Linked DNA regions of Homo sapiens: regions 2 and 3 are each linked to region 1. The links are contacts of gene promoters, found by promoter capture Hi-C in blood cells and fetal thymus (Javierre and others, 2016). All regions are on one chromosome and are shown on one strand. The core of a region is centred on a gene start or on the middle of the fragment in contact, and the rest is flanking DNA. Distances in the headings are between cores, read along the strand shown.

Region 1 (2,943 bases), core at 99-2,598:
GACTCCTTCTAGAGAATATAAGTTCCACGAGTGCAGGAATTTTTGTCTATTAGTCCTTGATGTATCTCCAGCCCTAGAACAGTGTTTGGCCCATACTATGTGCCCAAAAAATATCCATTAAATGACTGAATGTTGCTGTGCATGGTGGTGCATGCCTGTAATCCCAGCACTTTGGGAAGCTGAGGCAGAAGGATTGCTTAAGCCCAGGAGTTAGAGACCAGCTTGGACAACATAGTGAGACCGCATCTCGTAAAAATTTTTAAAAATAAAAAATGAGTGAATATCTAGATAGCCAGGATTAGAGAAGTGTCACAGTCAGAAAGCCTGAAGCCTAAAGAAGACCAAGGAACCAGGGGCTTTATCCTCAGATACATGAAAGCCTGAAATTCTGTCCACAAGTATTTATAGAGGGCCCGTAATGTTCTTGGTACTGGGCTAGGAACTCCCCAGATTCAGTTAAGAACAAAGTCATTACCTGGCCTCAGATGCAAGGCAGGGGCTGGGGGGTGTGAGTGGCAGGGAGGCAGCGTGATCAATACAAACACTTTTCTTAGCCTGAGCTGCCCTGACATGGTCTGACGGCTCACAAGGTGGTGAGTGCAGCCGGGCTGCAGTGTTCAAGGAGGGCGCCGGCTGGCCGCCCACCTGTCAGAGGCTGCGCCAGAAGGATGCGGAAGAAGAGATTTCTGCCTTGGCTGAGGTCACTTCCCACCCCCAGATTCCCTGCCCACACAACCCTGCAATTTTCTGACGCTGACGACTCGGATCCTATTATTTCCCGATTTTCAAGGTCCCATGATGCTGACAGCCCCAAATGCTAAGTCGTCAGTCCGCCCACGCCCTGGACCCGAAAGCAATAAAGGCGAGGTCAGCAAGGGTCCTACCACCCACTGCCTCGAAAGGCCTCTGGGGGTGGTCGGCGCGCCCCTCCCCACCTCGCGGGGGCCGTGTGGGCGTCGCTCGGTCGTTGGGGTGCCGGGGACGTCGTGATGAGAACGGCGTCCCAGAGACGGCGGTGACAGAGCCGGGACACGTGACAGTCACAGGGTCACATTCTGCGGTCCACGAGTTTGGGACCGGGCTGGTCACGTGACGCGGTGGGGGCACCATGGGGTGATGTGAGATGCGGGTGTCTCGGATTACGTACAAATGACGTATTCCTACCCCTTTTGGCAACCAGATTTCCGTTGGAAGATGCAACGGTTCCGGTGACGGTAGCAAGTTCTCGCGTCCAGGCATCTCCGCTTCCGCTCGGGGCGCAACAACTTCCGACTCCACCTTCCCAGCCTCGGGCAAGGAAGAGACGCGACCATGTGCGCATGCCCCGAATTTATCACGGAGGGGCGGGGCTGAGGCTGCGGGAGCTGGAGCGGGGAAGAAAAGGGAATTCCAACCTGTGGAACCTTGGGGGGTCCCCGGGGTCGGCGCCTTCCCATTGACTGTGGGCGGTGCAAGGGACGGAGCCTCTGGCGGCTCGTGGGGGTGTTGGGGTCCGCAGGGGGAGGGAGGGGAGTGTCAGAGTGTGAGCGGGGTACGGGAATTCCAAATTTGAGGGCCTCCCGGCTCTGGCGCCGGGGAGGGAGAGCTCAGGCCGCCATGCGGGACAGGACCCACGAGCTGAGACAGGTGAGACGCCAGGGCAGCGGGGATGGGGACGGGCGGACGAACTGGAACGCAGGACTTCTGGTCTTCGGGATAGGGAGGGGTGGCTGATGGCCAGGAAGGAAAGTCCCGGAAGCCTGTGGGTCCTGCGGGGTAAGAGCCGCAGCGAAACGGTGGTGCCAATGACTCCGGGCCTGGCAGGGGGATGACAGCTCGGACGAAGAGGACAAGGAGCGGGTCGCGCTGGTGGTGCACCCGGGCACGGCACGGCTGGGGAGCCCGGACGAGGAGTTCTTCCACAAGGTAAGGGGCTGGGGTCTCCGCCTGGATTCGCGAGGGTGTAGGAGGACCCGAGGAGTAGCGTGGTCTGGAGTACCCCATATCTCTTTCAGCCCTCTCGGTCACCCTCCCCAGGTCCGGACAATTCGGCAGACTATTGTCAAACTGGGGAATAAAGTCCAGGAGTTGGAGAAACAGCAGGTCACCATCCTGGCCACGCCCCTTCCCGAGGAGAGTGAGTGAAACCCCGGCTGCAGGGCGCATGCTCCGCCCCAGGGATTGTGGGGGTTGTAGTTCCACGCAGGTGGTGGCCAGAGTGGTTTGTTGAGGTGGGGGCTGCTGTTTGGGAGTCTTGGCCTTCTCTTATTCAGGCATGAAGCAGGAGCTGCAGAACCTGCGCGATGAGATCAAACAGCTGGGGAGGGAGATCCGCCTGCAGCTGAAGGGTGAGCTCCTGGGACCTCAGACAGATCCTTCCCTCTGATCCTGCCCTGTTGTTGGTATATCTGGGGAGTGTGTGGCCCAGAGAAGCCAGTGATATATCCAGGTCACACAGCAGGCCTGGGTCTAGCATCTGTCTCCTGGCCTCCAGGCCATTGTACTCTCCACAGCACAAGTCCGCCTCTCAGGTTCTTTTATTTACAATGAAACCATTTACTTACACAGTTATCGCTGCCCACTGGGCATTCTTTGGGCAGGGAGATGGAGTTTTGTTAGGTGGCCTCTGCATACCTATGGGAACTCAGTGATGTAATGCAAAGAAAAATAAACTTACTTTCTCCTCTTAGAGGCTCAGCCTTAGTCATTTTATGATAAATTATATTTCCCTAAAAATCCTATGGAGACAAGTACCCCCAATACCCCTGTGTCTTCCCACAGCCATAGAGCCCCAGAAGGAGGAAGCTGATGAGAACTATAACTCCGTCAACACAAGAATGAGAAAAACCCAGGTGGGTTTTTTTTCTCAGAAATGAGGACATTTCAGCAAATGTTTCATGAAGTATTAGATGACAGGTGTATGAAGGAAGGGCCTGCAGAGATCATGGAGTCCAATTGGATGAC
Region 2 (2,700 bases), core at 36-2,535, 260 kb after region 1:
TAATCTAAGCCAGTTATTAGCCTTATTAGTCAGAGTGCCAACTTTGACTTTTTACCTCCCTAAAGATTCCCAATATATTGAAAGGGTGGTATTCTGTCTTCTCTTCTAGAATTTTCTATGTATTTTCCAACCCAAATTCTTCTTTGCTGCCTTAATAATCTCCCAGGAATACCACCTGGAGTAAATCCTCACTCACTGCCCATTGACTCTACTATAGGCTTATTTTTTATCTTTTAAATTATTAAAAAATATATATATACACTTAGAGATTGGGATCTTGCTCTGTTGCCCAAGCTGGAGTGCAGTGGTGACAAAGCTCACTGCAGCCTTAAACTCCTTGGCTCAAGGGATCCTCCCACTTCAGCCCCCCGAGGAGCTGGGATTACAGGCAGAAACCATTCTGCCAGGCTTATTATATAGGTTCCTTTAGCTGGCAGCACATTCAAGTGATAATTTATCATGAACCATATAGAAGATCACATCTGCTCCAGAGGGATTCCCCCAGCAGGCATAACTTTTCTTCAGAGAGAGAAAACCTCCACATCTGCTTTAGGTGGGAAGAGGTGTGTGATTACGGTCCTGTCTCTTTCAGATCGGCGCCTACTTCGGGGCCTCCCTCTGCTCCGTGGACGTGGACAGCAACGGCAGCACCGACCTGGTCCTCATCGGGGCCCCCCATTACTACGAGCAGACCCGAGGGGGCCAGGTGTCCGTGTGCCCCTTGCCCAGGGGGGTGAGTGGCAATGGGACCTGGGCTGGGTGGGGCCCGGTGTGGGTGGAGGGGTCGCCTGGGTTGGGGCCTGATACTGTTTGTGTTTAGCAGAGGGCTCGGTGGCAGTGTGATGCTGTTCTCTACGGGGAGCAGGGCCAACCCTGGGGCCGCTTTGGGGCAGCCCTAACAGTGCTGGGGGACGTAAATGGGGACAAGCTGACGGACGTGGCCATTGGGGCCCCAGGAGAGGAGGACAACCGGGGTGCTGTTTACCTGTTTCACGGAACCTCAGGATCTGGCATCAGCCCCTCCCATAGCCAGGTGAGACCTGGTCACTGTCCTTGTCATGACAGTAGCCTCTTTGTTGATCTTTCTCCTAATTCAGTGTGCCCACAGCTGCCAGATAAGTTCTCACAGTACTCCTTTCAGAACCTTCAAAAATAATAACATGTGGCTGGGCCTGGTGGCTGACGCCTGTAATCCCAGCACTTTGGAAGGCTGAGTTGGGAGGATTGTTTAAGCCCAGGAGCTCAAGACCAGTCAGGGCAACATGGTGAGAACCCATCTCTCCAAAAAAAAAAAAAAAAAAAAAAAATTAGCCAGGTGTGGTGGCATACACCCATGGTCCCAGCTACTCTGGAGGCTGAGGCCGGAGGATTACTTGAGCCTGGGAGGTTGAGGCTGCAGTGAGTCCTGGTCACACCACTGTACTCCAGCAGCCAGAGTGACAGAGTCAGACTTGCACATGCATGCGTGCACGTGCACACACACACACACATTCACAGAAATCTCAAAGACTCTTAGTTCCAGATTGATTATTTCTACAGCAATAGGAGGTGCATGATAGCCTCATCACCCCCACTTTACAGATGAGTAGATCAAGGCCCAGCGATGGCAAATGGCAAGCTAGCAGTATTGGGATGCAGGCATTCCTTTCTTCTGAATCTCGGTCCTGGTAAGGTGACCAAGAGCTCTAGTTTGCTTAACTCTGTCCCAGATTTAGTACTGAAATCCCACATCCTGGGAAACCTATGCGGTTGGCCACCTTACGGGATTGCACACTTCACAGATGTGGAATTGTGCAGTCACACGTGCCCCTCTCTCAGAATCGCCCTGTGCTTGGCTTAATGCTCTGCTATTGCCATCTTCAATTCTTAGTAATTTTTCAACAAGGGGTCCTACGTTTTTTTGCATTGGGTCTTGCAAAGCATGGAGCCCATCCTGATGACTTGTCACCCTATATTCTGGACCTGACAACTGTTTTGCTCTGTAAGTTGGCTTTCTGTCTCCTGCCAGGTGGAGCCCACTGTCTGGAGGGACCCTTACAGTCTGGTTCCATCTTCCCTGTTCATATTCTTTCCCACCATAGCCACCTGAGACCATCTAGTTTTCTGGCCTCTGGTCTCTGGGTTTTTGCTAGCCTTACATTTTTCTTTCTTTATGTTTAAAAATTTTTTTATTGTGGTAAGGGCACTTAACATGAGACCTATCCTCTTAACAGATTTTAAAATGTACAATGTAATACTGTCATCTATTGGTGCAATGTTGTACAGCAGACCTCTTGAACTTCATCTTGCATATTGAAAATGTATACCCATTGATTAGCAACTCCTCATTGTTCTCTAGCCTCTGGCAGCCACCATTATATTCTTTGCTTCAATGAGTTTGGCTGTTTTATTTTTTTTTAGTTTTTGAGACAAAAGTTTCAGTCTGTCGCCCAGGCTGGAGTGCAGTGGCACAATCTCGGCTCACTGCAACCTTACCTCCTGGGTTCAAGCGATTCTCCTCTCTCAGCCTCCTGAGTAGCTGGGATTACAAGCATGCACCACCATGCCTGGCTAATTTTTGTATTTTTTGTAGAGACTGGGTTTTGCCATGTTGTCCAGGCTGGTCTTGAGCTCCCGGACTCAAGTGATCCACCTGCCTTGGCCTCCCAAAGTGCTGGGATTACAGGTGTGAGCCACCGCACCCTGCCAGTTTGGCTATTT
Region 3 (2,964 bases), core at 387-2,886, 280 kb after region 1:
TCCCCCAGTCTGTAGGTTGTCTCTTCACTCTGTTAATTATTCCTTTATTGTGCAGAAGCTTTTTAGTTTGATGCAATTCCATTTGTCTGTTTTTGTTTTTGTTGCTTGTGCTTTCAGGATCATATAAAAAAATCATTGCCCAGACCAATGTCATGAAGCTTTCCCTCTACGTTTCCTTCTAATAGTTTATAGTGTTAGATCTTACATTTAAGCCTTTAACTCACTTTTTAATTTTTTTATTTTTTAATTTAATTTTATTTTAGATGGAGTCTCTCTCTATTGCCCAGGCTGGAGTGCAGTGGCACGATCTCAGCTCACTGCAACCTCCACCTCCCGGGTCCCAGCGATTCTCCTGCCTCAGCCTCCCAAGTAGCTGGGATTACAGGCCTCCGCCACCATGCCTGGCTACTTTTTTGTATATTTAATAGAGACGGGGTTTCACCATGTTGGCCAGGCTGGTCTTGAACTCCTGATCTAAGGTAATCCACCCGCCTCAGTCTCCTAAAGTGCTGGGATTACAGGCGTGAGCCACTGCACCCGGCCCAGCACTTTTGATTTTTGTATTTGGTTTGAGATAAAGGCTCAGTTTCATTCTTTTGCCTGTGGATATCCAGTGTTCTTAACACCATTTGTTAAAAAGACTGTCCTTTCCCCATTGTATGCCCTTGGCACCTTTGTTGAAAATTAGTTGATTGTTGGCCGGGCGCGGTGGCTCATGCCTGTAATCTCAGCACTTTGGAAGGCTGAGGCGGGTGGATCATGAGGTCAGGAAATCGAGACCGTCATGGCTAACAAGGTGAAACCCCGTCTCTACTAAAAATACAAAAAATTAGCCGGGCGCGGTGGCGGGCGCCTGTAGTCCCAGCTACTCGGGAGGCTGAGGCAGGAGAATGGCGTGAACCCGGGAAGCAGAGCTTGCAGTGAGTCGAGATTGCGCCACTGCAGTCCGCAGTCCGGCCTGGGCGACAGAGCGAGACTCCGTCTCAAAAAAAAAAAAAAAAAAAAAAAAAAAAAAAAAAAAAATTAGCCAGGCATGGTGGTGGGCACCTGTAGTTCCAGCTACTCGGGAGGCTGAGGCAGGAGAATGGGGGAACCTGGGAGGAAGAGGTTGCAGTGAGCCTACATCATGCCACTGCACTCCAGCCTGGGTAACAGAGCAAGACTCCGTCTGGAAAAAAAAAAAAAAGAAAAGAAAATTAGTTGATTGTAAATGCATGGGTTCATTTCTGAGCTCTGTATTCTGTTCCATTGGTCAATGTCTCTGTTTTTATGTCAGTGTCATGCTGTTTTGCTGAGTATACCTTTGTGGTGTATTTTGATGTCAGGTAGTGTGATACCTCTACCTTTGTTGTTTATGCTCAAGATTGTCTTGGATATTTGAGGTCTTTTGTGACTTCATATTAATTTTAGTATTGTTTTTTCTATTTCTGTAAGAAATGCCATTGGGATTTTGGTAGGAATTACATTGACTCTATCGATCACTTTGAATAGTATGGACCTTTAAAAATATTCTTTCAATCCATAATATGGGATATCTTTCCATTGATTTTTGTCTTAACTTTCTTTCGTCAATGTTTTATAGTTTTAGTGTGCATATTTTTCACCTTCTTGGTTAAATTAACTTGTAAGCATTTTATTTTTTGATGCCATTGTAAATAGGATTAATTTCTTTTTCAGATAGTTTGTTGTTAGTGTATAGAAACAAATAATTTTTGTATGTTCATTTTGTATTCCATGACTTTACTAAATTTGTTTATTAAATTTGATAACTTTTTCGTAGAGTATTTATAACAAGTTTCTTATATATAAGATCATGTCAATTGCAAACAGGGACAATTTTTTTTTCTTTATTTCTAACTTGAATGCATTTCTTATCTTTTTCTTGCCCAATTGCTCTGGCTAGGACTTTCAGTACTGTGTTGAAATAGAAGTGGTGAGTGTGGGCATCCTTGCCTTGTTCCTAATTTTAGTGGTAAAATCAAATTTTCACCACTGGGTATGATGTTAACTAGACACTTTTTTTAATGTTCTTTATCATGTTGATGTAATTTCCCTGTATTTCTAGTTTGTTGAGGGTTTTTAATCATGAGTGGCTATTCCTGTGGCCTGAATGTTTGTGTCCTCCCCAGATTCATATGTTGAAGCCTAATTCCTTGTGTGATGGTATTTGTAGATGGGACCTTTGGAAGGTGTTTAGGTCATGAGAGTGTGGCCATCATTAATAGGATTAGTGCCCTTAGACAAAAGCAAAATGATGGTTGCCTATGAACCAGAAAATAGGCTCTCACCAGATATTGAATCTGCTTGCACCTTGATTTTGGATGTCACAAGTCTTCAGAACTATGAGAAATAAATTTCTATTGCTTATAACCCATCCAGTCTATGTTATTTGTTATACCAAATAAGCTAAGACAGATGTTTAGTTTTATTAAATGCTTTCTTTTCTTATTGATAAGATCATGTTATTTTTATTCCTTATTCTGTTAATGTGGTGCATCACATTTATTGATTTGCATATGTTGAGCCATCCTTGCATGCCAGGAATAAAGCCCACATGGTCATGGCGTATGACCCTTTTGTGCTATTGAATTCAGTTTGCTAGTATTTTATTTAGGATTTTGGATCTATGTTCAATAGGGAAATTGGCATGTAGTGATCTTTTCTCATGGTGTGTTTGTTGGGATTTAGTGTCAGGATAGTGCTTGCCTCATACAATAAGTTTGGAAGTATTCCCTCCTCTTCAGTTTTTTGGATGAGTTTGAGAAGAATTCATATTAATTCTTATTTAAATGTTTGGTTGGTAGAATTTGCCTGAGAAGCCACCAGGTCCTGGGCTTTTCTTTGTTAGGAGGTCTTTGATTACTGATTCAATTTCCTTACTCATTATAGATCTGTTTAAACTTTCTATTGCCTTATGATTCAGGCTTGGTAGGTTGTATATTTCTAGGAATTTATCCATTCCTT

Evidence for each region. The method cuts DNA at HindIII sites, captures the fragments that hold promoters and counts their contacts. A CHiCAGO score of 5 or more calls a contact.
Region 2: a contact is called between a fragment that was not itself captured here and the fragment with the promoter of STX4 in region 1, in 1 of 17 cell types (monocytes). The highest score is 8.2, in monocytes.
Region 3: a contact is called between a fragment that was not itself captured here and the fragment with the promoter of STX4 in region 1, in 1 of 17 cell types (M0 macrophages). The highest score is 5.1, in M0 macrophages.

The regions. Positions count from the first base shown.
Region 1 is chr16:31,032,210-31,035,152 of GRCh38, forward strand. STX4 (syntaxin 4) reads left to right here and starts at 1,349. Exons shown (of 11, transcript NM_004604.5): 1 at 1,349-1,626; 2 at 1,804-1,905; 3 at 2,017-2,116; 4 at 2,253-2,327; 5 at 2,761-2,831. The coding sequence starts at 1,597. RefSeq lists enhancers at 673-1,184, 1,697-2,207. The HindIII fragment of the contact is 4,602 bases long and covers 1-2,943 here.
Region 2 is chr16:31,296,922-31,299,621 of GRCh38, forward strand. ITGAM (integrin subunit alpha M) reads left to right here. Exons shown (of 30, transcript NM_000632.4): 13 at 593-733; 14 at 824-1,033. Among named protein-coding and RNA genes, the nearest start is that of ITGAM, 38 kb to the left of the region's middle. The HindIII fragment of the contact is 4,791 bases long and covers 1-2,700 here.
Region 3 is chr16:31,315,216-31,318,179 of GRCh38, forward strand. All of the region lies in intron 14 of ITGAM (integrin subunit alpha M), which reads left to right. Among named protein-coding and RNA genes, the nearest start is that of ITGAX, 38 kb to the right of the region's middle. The HindIII fragment of the contact is 2,960 bases long and covers 157-2,964 here.